2 separate regions of the Homo sapiens genome follow, and region 1 is linked to region 2. Evidence: promoter capture Hi-C in human tissues and cell types (Jung and others, 2019). All regions are on one chromosome and are shown on one strand. The core of a region is centred on a gene start or on the middle of the fragment in contact, and the rest is flanking DNA. Distances in the headings are between cores, read along the strand shown. Region 1 overlaps KDELR2 (KDEL endoplasmic reticulum protein retention receptor 2). Region 2 holds the start of WIPI2 (WD repeat domain, phosphoinositide interacting 2).

The links. The method cuts DNA at HindIII sites, captures the fragments that hold promoters and counts their contacts. A contact is called where the count stands out against the background at its distance.
Region 1: a contact is called between a fragment that was not itself captured here and the fragment with the promoter of WIPI2 in region 2, in 1 of the 25 tissues and cell types used here (spleen).

Annotation. Positions count from the first base shown.
Region 1 is chr7:6,470,096-6,476,938 of GRCh38, reverse strand. KDELR2 (KDEL endoplasmic reticulum protein retention receptor 2) reads left to right here. Exons shown (of 5, transcript NM_006854.4): 2 at 2,655-2,755. Among named protein-coding and RNA genes, the nearest start is that of KDELR2, 11 kb to the left of the region's middle. The HindIII fragment of the contact is 6,301 bases long and covers 1-5,693 here.
Region 2 is chr7:5,188,968-5,195,924 of GRCh38, reverse strand. It overlaps WIPI2 (WD repeat domain, phosphoinositide interacting 2), which reads right to left and starts at 5,692. Exons shown (of 13, transcript NM_015610.4): 1 at 5,432-5,692; 2 at 2,754-2,807. The coding sequence starts at 5,505. RefSeq lists silencers at 5,198-5,247, 5,258-5,907. The HindIII fragment of the contact is 24,553 bases long and covers 1-6,957 here.

The DNA.
Region 1 (6,843 bases), core at 1,294-3,793, 1.3 Mb before region 2:
CATGCAGGGAATACAAGATGGAATAAGGCATGACCCCAGCCTTTAAAGATCTTGGTACTGAGTGAGGTTTTTGGGGAGAGGAGAGGCAGGAACCACATCATCACAGTGTATTTTTATAAGTACTGTAATTGGAGCTAGGGCAGCAGCTGGCATGAAGCAGTTCCCCTTATGTGCTTGCTGAATGAATCAACAGTCCTGAGGGAGGGTATCTTCAGAGATGACATCCCAGAGGAGGTGGGATATGAGCTGGGTCCCCACGGGGGCTGGTAAAGACAATATGATGGTCCCTGGTTTTCAGTATAGGAATGCTGGGAATGAGGACACAATTTCAAATCTGCCTGGCTTCCAAAGTTCTGTTAGAGTAAAACCCTTTCCCACAAAATTCACCTACTTGTATCCTGTATGTTTATATTTAAAATATTGGAAAGAACCATATAGGAAATAAGCTGGAAATTGATTTCTCAAGGCTTCAACAAACACCAGGTATGGTCTGACTGCTCCCTGTTCTTTCTTCTTCCCCCTCTGAAACCTCCCGGTTTCTTGGTTAGCAGCAGCCTTGTCATTTCCCCTTTGGAACATTGGTCTCTGTAGGAAGAAATCAGTTATCCGTTACGGGGAAAAGACTAAGAGCAGATTCACTGTCCGTGTCTCCTCCTTTGGCCCTTTGGTTTCTATTGATGGATCTGGAAGGGTGGCATCAACATTTTTTTCCATTTCTATTTAGATGTGTATGTGAATAGGCTGAGACTACAGTTATTCATCTGAGAAAGTAACATTCTTACATTCAGGTTTTCAGTTTCAGCAAGCTGCAAAATGATTGTTCATAAAATATTGAAAAACAACATGTAATACAAATATTAGCCAGGTGTGGTGGTGCACCCACCTGTAGTCCCAGCTACTCAGGAGGCTGAGGTGGGAGGATCACCTCAGCCCAGGGAGGTCAAAGGTGCAGTGGGCTGTACTTGTGCCACCGCACTCCAGCCTGGGCAACAGAGTGAGACCCAGTCTCAAAAAAAGAAAAGAAAAATAATGTGCTTTTCACGTTCCAGAGGAGTGTTGTGAATGATTTGGGTGAAGTGACTTTTCTGTTAAATTCATACTTACTAAAATGTGTAGTGGTGTGAAGTATGCATTATAGATGAGGGTGGGTGGGTTCTGACATTTAGTCAGCCTTCAGTTTCTTTAATGCATTTGCTCAGTCTCCAGCATCTGAAACCCATAGTTTGCGTCCTTTGTCACATAAATATTTGGCCAAATATAGATGTCAGAAAAGCTGTGTGCACACCACATAAATGTCCAGCCTTCCTGGCTGAGTGTGGCTGTGCCATGCAGTGCTCTGGAGGTGGGTTGGTGGTTGGAAGTGGAAACACAGTTTCAAGGCTTTAAAAAAGACAGCTGCTTTTGAAGACCAGCTGTAGTTGTGGGTTCATACCTTCATGTTGTCCTAGCATTCAGGAACATTTTTATACAAATACAATGGAATTTCTATTTTATTGTAATTAATTTATTTTTTGAGACAGGGTCTTGCTCTGTCACCCAGGCTAGAGTGCAGGGATGTGACCACAGCTCACTCAGCCTCAGCCTCCTGGAGTCACGCAATCCTCCCACCTCAACCTCCCATGTAGCTGGGACCACAGGTGTGTGCCACCTTGCCTGGCTATCACTTTTCTATTTTTCGTAGAGATGGAGTCTGGTCTCAAACTCCTGGGCTCAAGCGATTCTCCCGCCTTAGCCCCCCTATATGTGGAGATTATAGGCATGACCACTATGCCTAACTGAGAGGGAAGCTTTAAAAATCTTAACATATCCAAGTAATTGCCGCTCTTAGCAAAGAAGTCACCATGGGATGCGATGCCATTATTCCAGCGGGAGTTCCTGCCCAACTCTTACCTGAGTCGGTGCTTCTCATCTACTCCTCATCCCCCTTAATGACAGTAGACTCCATCTCCGTTCTCAAAAGATTTCTCACCATGGAGATACTGTTTTACCATACAAAGAAGGGACCAGGCGACATGGCTCATACCTGTAATGCCAACGCTTTGGGAAGCTGGGCCCAGGAGTTCAAGACCAGTGTGGGCAACATGGTGAACAAAAAATTTGTTTAAAAATTAGCTGGGTGTGGTAGTTCACACCTCTAGTCCCACCTACTCTGGAGGCCGAGGTGGGAAGATTGCTGAAGCCCAGGAGGTCAAGGCTACAGTGAGCTTGATCGTGCCTCTGCACTCCAGCCTGGGCAGCAGAGGGAGACCCTGTCTCAGGGGAAAACAAAAAAGAAAAATCTGAATGTAAGAGACAAGTTATAACACTAAATGACAGCAGAATTATTGAGAAATTTGTTCCTACTTAAGGTGATATATTTGAGAAGTAAAAGGTTCGTTTGAATGATACACATCCTGGCATAATAAAGCCCCTTTCCTGTGGTCGCCCTTTATAGTGAGACAGAAAAGCCTGTTAGAGCCTCCCAAAAGGAGCATGTTTGGGAATGGGAAGGGATAGAAAAACTACAACTGCTCTTGTTCATTCAGAGCCATCCCTAGACCTGGGCCTTGACCCCACGCACCCCTCCTTCCCTGTCTGCACTCCCTGCACAGTGTGATCCACAGGAATCCCAAAGCTCTTCAGGCCCTTCTAATACTTCCCTTCTGTTTCTCTAGGTATTTCTGGGAAAAGCCAGCTTCTGTTTGCACTGGTCTTCACAACTCGTTACCTGGATCTTTTTACTTCATTTATTTCATTGTATAACACATCTATGAAGGTATGGTATGCCATCCACAGGAATGTATTTCATCTACAGTGCACAGGTCTATGGACACTTAATTTATGTCAGCTGTGTATTTTTAATTAAAATGCTCCAAAAATAATGTCTTAATATGCTGTTCTTGACTTTAAAACTTTCAGACCACCTTGTATATATAACTGGGACTAAACGAGCTATCAGTAAGCATACATTTTTGGTTTCAAAACAGTAGTTAATTAAAATACTTTGAAGTTAGAACTTTTTTATTTTAGGTTCCTTAAGTATGATAAATCTAAAGCTCTTGATAACTCTGTAAGTAAGAGCGGTAACTATTATATTTTCAAGCCGTGGGAAATTACAGAGTCCCCAGAGAAATCCAGCAAGTTGGTACATAACAAGGAACGAAAGCAGGACTCCTAGTTGCAGTGTCTCATTTCGCTGCTGTGTGAGGAACTGTCTATAGGCTTCTATCTTTTTTCTTTGCCACTGAGTCAGTTTTACTTAAACTGTTGTGTGTGTGTCATTTTTATTACATTTGCCGTGCTTAAATGATCTCTATACCATCATTTACTTAGTAACGTATTTTTTTAAACCTTTCAACTTGTCCTAATTATTAGTATCTATAACACCTTTGTTGTCTTTCTTATATTTTTTCTAATTCACATTAAAACTAGTGTATAACTATTAAAATACAAAATGTTTGCACACCACCTAACACTTTGTGTAGCACTGGTGGCACACACCCCACACTGGGGGAAGTTGTGGACTACGTGAGCTTCAGTTCTTTCGCACAGTGTTGAATTCATGCTTGTGAACACCTACAGAGCTGGGAACTGAGGATGCGGCAGAAAATAAGCAGAAGTCTCTAGGCTGGTGTGGGAGAGTACACAGATCATGGCAGTACAAATGACTGCGATTTATGATGGGTGCCACAAAGGAAAAGTATAAGAGTTGCGAACCTATGGATATAAAAAACATGAAACAGGCCCAGTAGCTCCCGCCTGTAATCCCAGCACTTTGGGAGGCCAAGGTGGGTGGATTGCTTGAGCCAAGGAATCCGAGACCAGCCTGAGCAACATAGTTAGACCCCTGTCTCTAAAAAAAAAAAAAAAAAAAAAATACAAAAATTAGCCAGGCATGGTGGCATACTCCTGTAGTCCCAACTACTCAGGAGGGTAAGGTGGTAGGATCGCTTGAGCCCTGGAGGTTGAAGCTGCAGTGAGCCGTAATTGCACCACTGCCCTCCAGCCTGGCAGCCTGGGTGACAGAGCAGGATCCTGTCTGAAAAAAAAAAAAAAAAAAAAGAACAGGGGCTCTCAGGATATGTAATAGGAGTCTGATTTCTTTCTTTCTTTCCTTCTTTCTACAAATACTGAGCACCTGTGCACCAGGCACTATTCTAGGCCATTTGGTTATTAGCATACCCAAGGAAGTAATATTTCAACTGAATCCTATTGGTATGGCACCTAAACAACCTCCCCCCAACATTTTGTGTTCAAGAGCATTTTCATAAGCACTGTTGAAAGGAGACAAAGCAGTATGTGAGTCTGGTCTTTACTAAAAAGCAAATTTGAGTCACTTATAATGGATTCTTCATTACCAAATGATGGGAACCTAGTATTCAGGAAATAATGAGCTTACTTAAAAATGGTTAGGTCCCCACTTGTCTAGGCAAGTTAAAACTGCAGGCATTAGAGGTGTGTGAGCAAGAATCCTCTCTCCCCCTCAGGATGCCCAGGTTTCAGAGGAATCCATGCTTGCTTGGTTGTAGTTTCTAAGCACGATGTCCTGAAAGTCTGGCGTGAGACCCGAGGTGCTCGTGTCTTTTTACTTTAACTTCTGTGTGCTGGTGAGAGGAGAGAAGCAGCTGTTCTTCTCCAGGTGCTGCTAAGGCCTTAGTGGAAATAACGCCCATCAAGTTTTTATTAATGTTGAGCTGGCCACAGTCTAGGTCCTGGTGAGAGGCCTCTCTGCTGTGAGCCTTGGCTAGATGCGCTGAGGGGGCTCAGTGCATGTGTAGATGGATGTGTGTCTTGTTTATGCATGTAGATTTTGTTTTGTATTTATTCACATACATGGTGAGGAGATCGAGACCATCCTGGCCAACATGGTGAAACCCCATCTCTACTAAAAATTAGCTGGGTGTGGCGGCATGCGCCTGTAATCTCAGCTACTGGGGAGGCTGAGGCAGGAGAATTGCTTGAACCCGGGAAGCGGAGGTTGCAGTGAGCCGAGATTGCTCCACTGCACTCCAGCCTGGTGACAGAGCAAGGCTCCGTTTCAAAAAAAAAAAAAAAGTTAAACTTACACTTAACATATGACCCAGCAGTCCCACCCCTAAGTACATACCCAAGAGAAGTGAAAACTTACATTCACACAAACACTTGTACGCAAATGTTCACAGCAGCTTTATCCACTGTCCTCCCAAATTAGAAACCACCTGTCCTTCAACTGGTGAGTGAATAAACAAACTGGTGCATCCATACAATGGACCACCAATGGACGCAGCTATAAAAAGGAACAAATTATTAACACTAGGCCCTCACTTAATGTCATTGGTAGGTTCTTGAAGTGAAACAACACACACTGCAACTTGAAGTGAAACAACATACACTGAAGCCAGTTTTACCATAGGCTAATTGACATGAGTAAGAGTTAAGTTCCTACAGCATATTTCCGGTCCCCAAAACACCACCAGACTTTTAAATAAAGACCCAAAACAGGCCGGGTGCTGTGGCTCACGCCTGTAATCCCAGCACTTTGGGAAGCCGAGGCAGGCAGATCACCTGAGGTCAAGAGTTCGAGACCAGCCTGACCAACATGGAAACCCCGTCTCTACTACAAATATAAAAATTAGCTGGGCATGGTGGCAGGCGCTTGTAATCCCAGCTACTTGGGAGGTTGAGGCAGGAGAATCGCTTGAACCTGGGAGGCGGAGGTTGCAGTGAGCCGAGATTGTGCCACTGCACTCCAGCCTGGGCGACAGAGCGAGACTCCATCTCAAAAAAAAAAAAAAAAAAAAAAACCGAAACAAATGTGAGCTATACATTTATTTATTTATTTATTTATTTATTTTTTATTTTTTTTGAGACAGAGTCAGTCTGTCACCCAGGCTGGAGTGCAGTGGCGAGATCTCGGCACACTGCAAGCTCCGCCTCCTGGGTTCACACCATTCTCCTGCCTCAGCCTCCTGAGTAGCTGGAACTATAGGCACCCGCCACCACGCCCGGCTAATTTTTTGTATTTTTTTTAGTAGAGATAGGGTTTCACCATGTTAGCCAGGATGGTCTCGATCTCCTGACCTCATGATCCGCCTGCCTCGGCCTCCCAGAGTGCTAGGATTACAGGCGTGAGCCACCATGCCCAGCCAACATGAGCTATACATTTAAGAAAGATTAATAAAAGCAACATAATTATTTATCCAGTTTTTGGTGAATCCGTGCATGATGGTGGTCATAGTGGTGGCGGATTAAATCAAGAAGTATATGTTTACAAACAAAAATTATAAGGAGTACCTCCTACTACCATAAAGTTCAAAAACAAACAATAACAAATATAGCAGGCTCACTGAGTGCTTTTGTACTACATTGTTTATTGTGGTACATATGTATAATTATTGTATACTACTTTATGAATTATTTTACCATAGTTTGTATTCATTTTCCAACCCACTTACTTCATTTCAGGGTCCCAGGTGGCCAGAGCCTATCCCAGCAGCTCAGGTTCAAGGCGCGAACTTTCCCCCAACTGCATAGGATGCCATTCCATCACAGGGCGCGCTCACCCACACCCACTCACACTAGGACAGTTCACACATGCCAGTTCACCTAACTGGCATCGTTGAGATGTAAGAGGAAACCAGAGTATCTCTGGTGGGAGATTCTCCAAGAGTATCTCTTGGAGAAGACCCACGTGGACTCGGGGAGAGCATGCAAACGCCATGGATGGCGGCCCCAGCCGGGAACCAGTTTCTTTTCTCATCAGTGTTACAACCAAAGGATGTTATTGGCAGACCTGCTATACACACAATAAGTTTGGTTGCCTCTCAGATGCATTAGGCTAACTGAAATTGGACCCAGAAGGCAACATACTATGTGACTCCATTT
Region 2 (6,957 bases), core at 4,443-6,942:
TGGAATTACAGGTGACCACCATCACACCCGGCTAATTTTTGTATTTTTAGTAGAGATGGAGTTTCACCATCTTGGCCAGGCTGGTCTCGAACTCCTGACCTGGTGATCCACCTGCCCTGGCTTCCCAAAGTGCTGGGATTACAGGCGTGACCACCGTGCCTGGCCTAGATGAGTATTTTTAAAGAATGGTATTAAATATAAATATGATTGATATTTTCGTCTCAACATCAACAATCAAGTTCAACACCCCTTTGGAGATTTGGCTTTAAACAATTTCAAAATTGACCTGACCATAAAATGGCAGACATACTAATGGGAAAGGCAGAGCAACAGGTAAGTAGGAGATTTTCCCTAATACATAGCTTTATTGCCAAAAAATGTTTATTTATTTATTTTTAAGTCAACAGAGTGGGATTTATTTATTTTTATTTATTTTTTTGAGACAGGGTCTCACTCTGCCACCCAGGCTGGGGCACAGTGGTGCGATCTCGCCTTACTGCAGCCCCAACCTCCTGGGCTCAAGGGATCCTCCCATCTCAGCCTCCCGAGTAGCTGGGGACCACAGGCGCGTGCCACCACACCCGGCTAATTTTTGTTTTGTGTAGAGTCGAGGTCTCCCTGTGTTGCCCAACCTGGTCTTGAACTCCTGAACTCAAGGGATCCTCCCACCTTGGCCTTGCATAGTGCCAGGATTACAGGCGTGAGCCACTGTGCCTGTCCCCATTAGTGGGCTCTTTCATTGACAAAGGGGAAAACTAGCAAATCACAACCAAAAAAATATGTATTGGCTCAATCCCCCATTTTGCCAGTATCCCCACCTTCAACTGTGCCTGGTGCCCAAACCCAGAGACCCTGCTCTACCCTCCCCAGAGAGTAGGCCTGTCCTTCTCTAGGGAAGGACAGAGTCACTGCTTTTTAAACGCACTTGAACACATCCTCCTCATTTCACGGCCCCACAAGCCCGCCTCTGGAGCCCTGGCCTGCCCATTCCTGAGCCTGGAGGGGATTCTGCAGTTTAAACTAGGTTGGTTCTCTGCTTTCTTCACTAGCAATTTGAGATCCCACTTCCTTTACCACTCGCTAGCTTCCAAACTGGCTAATATCTCCTTTCTCATTCTTTCTATCGTATGAGTTTAAGCCTTTTAAAATATCTTTTTGAGGTCAAGGGTGGTGGCTTGCGTCTGCAATCTGAGCTACCCAGGCGGGAGGATCACTTGAAGCCAGGAGTTTGAGACCAGTTGGGGCAACAAAGTGAAACCCCATCTCTACAAAAATAAAAAATTAAGAAATGTTTAAAATTAGAAAATGTATATTTTTGACATTTTACTGATTAACATTTTATTAGGGTCTGGGGATGGAACCAAAATAAATGCTTATGTTTGATCCATCATTTTTAACTGAAAGTCTCCGTCAATGAATTTAAACTTGAACATTGAACATCAAAGAGACAGTGACTGCCACTCAAAAATGAAGATGTGAGTCAGATTTTTTGCTTATTTTCCTTTTCTCCCCCTTCCCTAATCGTCAGTCCGTAAAGACTCTCCTTCTTCATCATCTTTGCGGAGAAGCCATACTTGATTGCGTGCTTAGGCGGATAGAGCCCGACACTGTAAACCAAAAGCAACCTCAACTGTGGCTGCCAGCCCAGACCTGGGAGGCCCTGGTGCCCTCTCTTTCAGGGCTATGGACAGCCCACCCCCATCCCCGCTCCCCCTCACATCCTCCACCTCCATATCCCTGTGGCCTTTCCAACTCATCAGTATCCCCAAGCAGAGTTCTCTCCTTCTCGGCTTTTTCACCACGATGTTATCACATTCACCCAGAACCCAAGCCAGAAACTGGGCGTCACCTAAGTTCTCCCTTGGCTGCATGATGCACGTCCTGTGGGTCACACAAGTCCTGATGGCGAGACAGTCTCCTTCCCACTGGTCACTGCTGTTGGATGATATCCTCCTAAGTCACCCCCTGCCCTCCTCAAACATATCCTTTGCATAGCAGGCAGAATTACTTAAAACTTTAAGGGTGAAGGATCTTAGAAACCATCTTCAGGCCGGGCACAACGGCTCACACCTGTAATCCCAATGCTCTGGAGGCTGAGGCAGGAAGATCGCATGAGGCCAGGAGTTCAACACCAGCCTGGTCGACATAGCAAGACCCTGTGCCTACAAAAACTAAAAAAAAAATTAGCCAGGTGTGGGGCCTACGCCTGTAGTCCCGGTTTCTCGGGAGGCTGAGGCAGGAGGACCGCTTGAGCCCAGGAACTCAAAGTTGCAGTAAGCTATGATCATTATAACTATGCCACTGCACTTCAAACTGTGCAACAGTGAGACTCCATCTCAAAAACAAAAACCCAAACCCTTGATTTACAGATGAACAAAGAGAGGAGAGCAGTACCTTCCCAGCACAATAAGCATAACCTAGAAGAGACATGGTGGAAGAAAACAACAGGTTTCTCCTGTTGTCTCCACACACTTCATAACATCAATTCTACAAACACAAGACTTGGAAAGTCAAGTCCCTTTCTTCATTCCATCCCTTTTAGACATGGCATTTAAAACAGACATTGCTACATCACTAACTTCCCACAAGCTGTGGTATCCACTGGAAAAATGTAGTCCTTGATATTTCCATTTCAGATTCAAGTGATCCTCTCCCACTTATTAACTGGTTCACTGCAATTTCAAAAAGCCAAAAAAGTCCTCTAACATAAGCCTTCCAAGGTGATACTTTCAGAAACCAGGGTTGGAACTAACCAGACAACAGCGCGACGGCCAAGACCAGCTGCTCTTGATGCCCCTTTCACTTCTCTAGGTAAAAAAACAAAACAAAACAAAAAACAAATGGTAAAAAACAAATAAAACTTATGCACACTTTTAGGATAGGAATCATGAAAAAGTACGACATTGGAAATCATATTACCAGTAAAGAAAGGCAGGACAGTTATAGTTTGGTATGTAACAAATACAAAAAGAATTTAAAAGACAAAAAAAAGGGAAATGACCCTATAACATATATATTCTAGTAAGTGAACTGGCTTCCAAATTTTCTCACTGCATACAGTAAATGTGAGTTCTAGACGGTCATTCTTTCACTTGCTAAAAATTGTGCTCCTCAATAAATTCTGGAGATTAAGAAGGGAGGAAAAGGTATAAGCCATAAAAGCTCTCTCCGGGAACTTCTCTATTTCTTTCAAGTGTAGATTTAAAACAAATTACCGTCATTTTAGCCCAGTCAACTTCTAGTATAATCCTAGCTTACTATTCATTCCAATTTAGGTTTACACTACATCAAGGTCTCTCTGGCAAGTCAAAGTTATGAAATCTCAAAGTAACAGAAATCTCTTGAACTGTAATAACTTCGGGGAGCATGGAGAAGTGGGTAAGTGTGAAAATGTCCAAGTGTGAAAAGGTCCTATTTCAGGCCAGAGTGACACTCTTCTGTGACACAGGGAACATGGCAGTCCAGCTGAAGTAACAGTAAAAGAGAATGCTTTTCTCTATTTGATTTCATTCTGATAGAAATAATTAGTGAAAAACTGAAAGAGTGGCCGACAATGTTTTGGAAACTCTCTAATTTATACAAGGCATAAACCACCCTACTACTACTACCATTTCTTACTGGTCTCAAAATACTGTGGCCTTGGGCTTAAAAACCAAATTAGAATTGGTTTGGGATGTGTCCTTTTCCCTATCTGGATTAACATAGTCTATTCCACTTGAACTGCAACAGGTTGTCCGAATTGTTTGTTGTTCTGGCTTTTGGTCACACAGAACGCTACAGTACTTGGGAGTTTTCATCTTTACACGTTGTTATGCTATTATTTCTAAATTCACTGTCTTCAGAATTCTACTCTGTAAACAGAAAAAAAAACAGCATGGCAGAGCAGAAAGAACATTGGAAGAGAGCTCAGGAGGCGAGATTCCACTCCTGCCCCCGCTCCACTATTAACCAATTCCAAAACCCAGACCAGCTTGGAGCCTTTCGGAAGGATTTCCTCATCTGTAGTTGGATGAGGTGATTTGCCCCTTCCGACTCTCAATACAGTCCCACTGTGCGACTGTCTTCACAGCTTTGGGGAGGTGCTATTGAGTGCCTGCTGTACACCACCCACTGAGTGTTGTCCATTCTACAATTCACTTTTAATTTCCTAAAGAATCTTACCTTCTGCTATGTTAATTCCACTCAGCCAGTAACAACTCAACCAATGACTTAGTAAGATGCCAAATGCCCCACTCCTTCTCTTTCCTCACTTCCTCTTACTCACTTCCAAGATGGCTCTCCTCCCTGCCAACCCCATAACTCACCCTTCTCTCTCCAGAAAGCTCGCTCATCTATTAACCATCCCCACAAGTCCTCCTCCCAGGCAGCATCCAACCCGTATCAGTGGGGACAAACAGCGTTCCGAATGCACGGGCTGGCATTAAGGCCTTCTCTTGCCCTGAGGATGACCCACCCGCTGGAGCTCTGAGACTCCTGGGGCACTGGTCCGTAACGCCTCTCTTGGCTCAGTTTCTCCCTAGCTAGGTCAGATGCCAAGGTTATTGCTAAGTTTGTTACTTGCTGGAGAAGACATCAAAGTTGATGTCCCAAAAAGAACAGGGAGGGCCGCGCACGGTGGCTCACACCTGTAATCCCAGCACTTTGGGAGGCTGAGGTGGGCGGATCACTTGAGGTCAGGAATTTGAGACCAGCCTGACCAACATGGTGAAACCCTGTCTCTACTACAAATACAAAAAAGTTAGCTGGGCACAGTGGCGCGTGCCTGTAGTCTCAGCTACTCGGGAGGCTGAGGCAGGAGAATCGCTTGAACCCAGGAGGCGGAGGTTGCAGTGAGCTGAGATGGCACCACTGCACTCCAGCCTGGGCAACAGAGCAAGACTCTGTCTCAAAACAAAACAAACCCCAAAAAACAAAAACAAACAAAAAAACAGTGAGAAACGAAGAAAAGAAAATCAAGAGAGAGAGAAGGGTCTTAAGACGATGAAAAGACAAGGAGAAGGGCCTGATTCAAAGGAGAGTGAGTGGGAGACGCTGAGCAAGCAGCGGGAAGAGGAGACGAGAGGAGAGGAAGCGACCCACACCCAGCGCTCCACAGGCGGCCAAGACAAGTCAAGCCCCAAAGTTCGGCCCCAACTTTGCGAGAAGTAGTTAAGTCTGAAGCCAGGGGGCCTCCCCGCAAGAGGGTGAAAGCAGCCCCCTCTCCACCACCTCTCCCGCTCCGGGACCGCAGCTCCAGGCCAGCACCCGAGGGTCTCCCTGGAGGGCGCCCCTCCCTGCACGCCCCGGGCCCGCCCCTGGGGACGCCTCTGCGCGCCTTGGCCCGCGGGGAGGCCGAGCCTGCGACGCCGCCGAGCTTGGCAGCGAGGCCCTCCCCCTAGCCCGGGTCCGACCCTGGCCTCACCCCGACTCCGACCCCCGACCCCGGCCTTACGTGTTGTCCTGGTTGAAGTTGGCGAAGAGCAGCTGGCCGGCGCCGGCCTCCCCGCTCTGGCTCGCCAGGTTCATGGCTGGGCGCGCGGCGAGTGGGCCCGGCCGGGGAGGGCGCGCGCGCGAGGGCGGGTCAGGCTGCACTCAGGGTCGGCGCCGGGCCCCGCTCGCCGCCTCGGTCGCCGCCACTCGCCACCCTGGGATCAACCGCCGCCTCATCCCGTCCCCGCTCTTGTTTATGCTCCAGAGCCGGGGCACCCGGTACGCCTGCGCGGCCCCGCCCCCGCGACGCACGGCCTCGAGCGGCGCAGTCGCACTGCGGAGGCCCCGCCCTCTCACCGCCTGCCTGGGCTTGGGTTCCGGTGGATCACGCAGGCGTGGGGACGCGTCGGGGCGCGCTGGGCCTGGCTGAGGGCGAGCGGCGGCCGCTCATGCGCATGGGGCAGAGCTGGCGGGAGTCTGTTTTCTGCGTACCCTCCTCTTAATAACACTCAATGGCCAGGCACGGTGGCCTGTAATCCCAGCATTTTGGGAGGCCAAGGCGGGCGGATCACCTAAGATCAGAAGTTCGAGACCAGCCTGGCCAACATGGTGAAACCCCGTCTCTACTAAAAATACAAGAAAAATTAGCCGGGCTTGGTGGTGTACGCCTGTAATCCCAGCTACTCGGGAGGCTGAGGCAAGATAATCGCTTGAACCCAGGAGGCGGAGATTGCAGTGAGCCGAGATCATGCCACTGCAATCCATCCAGCCTGGGCCATAGAGCGAGACTCTGTCTCAAACAACAACAAAAACAAAAACAAAAACACCCCAATGGGCCCTCCATGTGCCAATCACTGTGCTGAATGCTTCTGCGCATTACCTTATCATTTTATTATTTTGAAAGACAAGGTCTCGCTCTGTTGCCTAGGCTGGAGTGCAGAGGCTCAATCACAGCTCACTGCAGCCTCAAACTCAGGCTCAAGCGATCCTCCCACCTTAGCCTCCCAAGTAGCTGGGACCACAAATGCATGCCACCACACCCTGCTAACTTTTAAGTTTTTTGTAGAGATGGGGTGGGGGCGGGGGGGGTCTTACTCTGTTGCCTAGGCTGGTCTCGCACTCCTGGCCTCAAGTGATGCTCCCACCTCGGCCTCCCAAAGTACTGGGATTACAGATGTGAGCCACTGTGCCCAGCCACATTATCTTATTTGATGCCCATTACAATCCTAAGTAGAGAATAGTATATCTTAATTTTACAGATTTGAAAATCGAGGCTCAGAAATAATTATTAGCCAAGTGCTAGATCTGAGACTGGAAACGTCCTGTTTCTCCAAGGTCCATACTGTCTGGGTTCCTGGGACAGAATCGTCCCTTAAATTTATTCATTCATTCAACAGTATTTAGGACGCACCTCTCATGTGAACTAAATAGGCCTCCTCCTTTCCCTCAGAGAAGTTATAATGGGGAGATATTTAAATATAAATAGAAGGCCAGGTGTGGTGGCTCTTACCTGTAATCCCAGCACTTTGGGAGGCTGAGGCGGGTGGA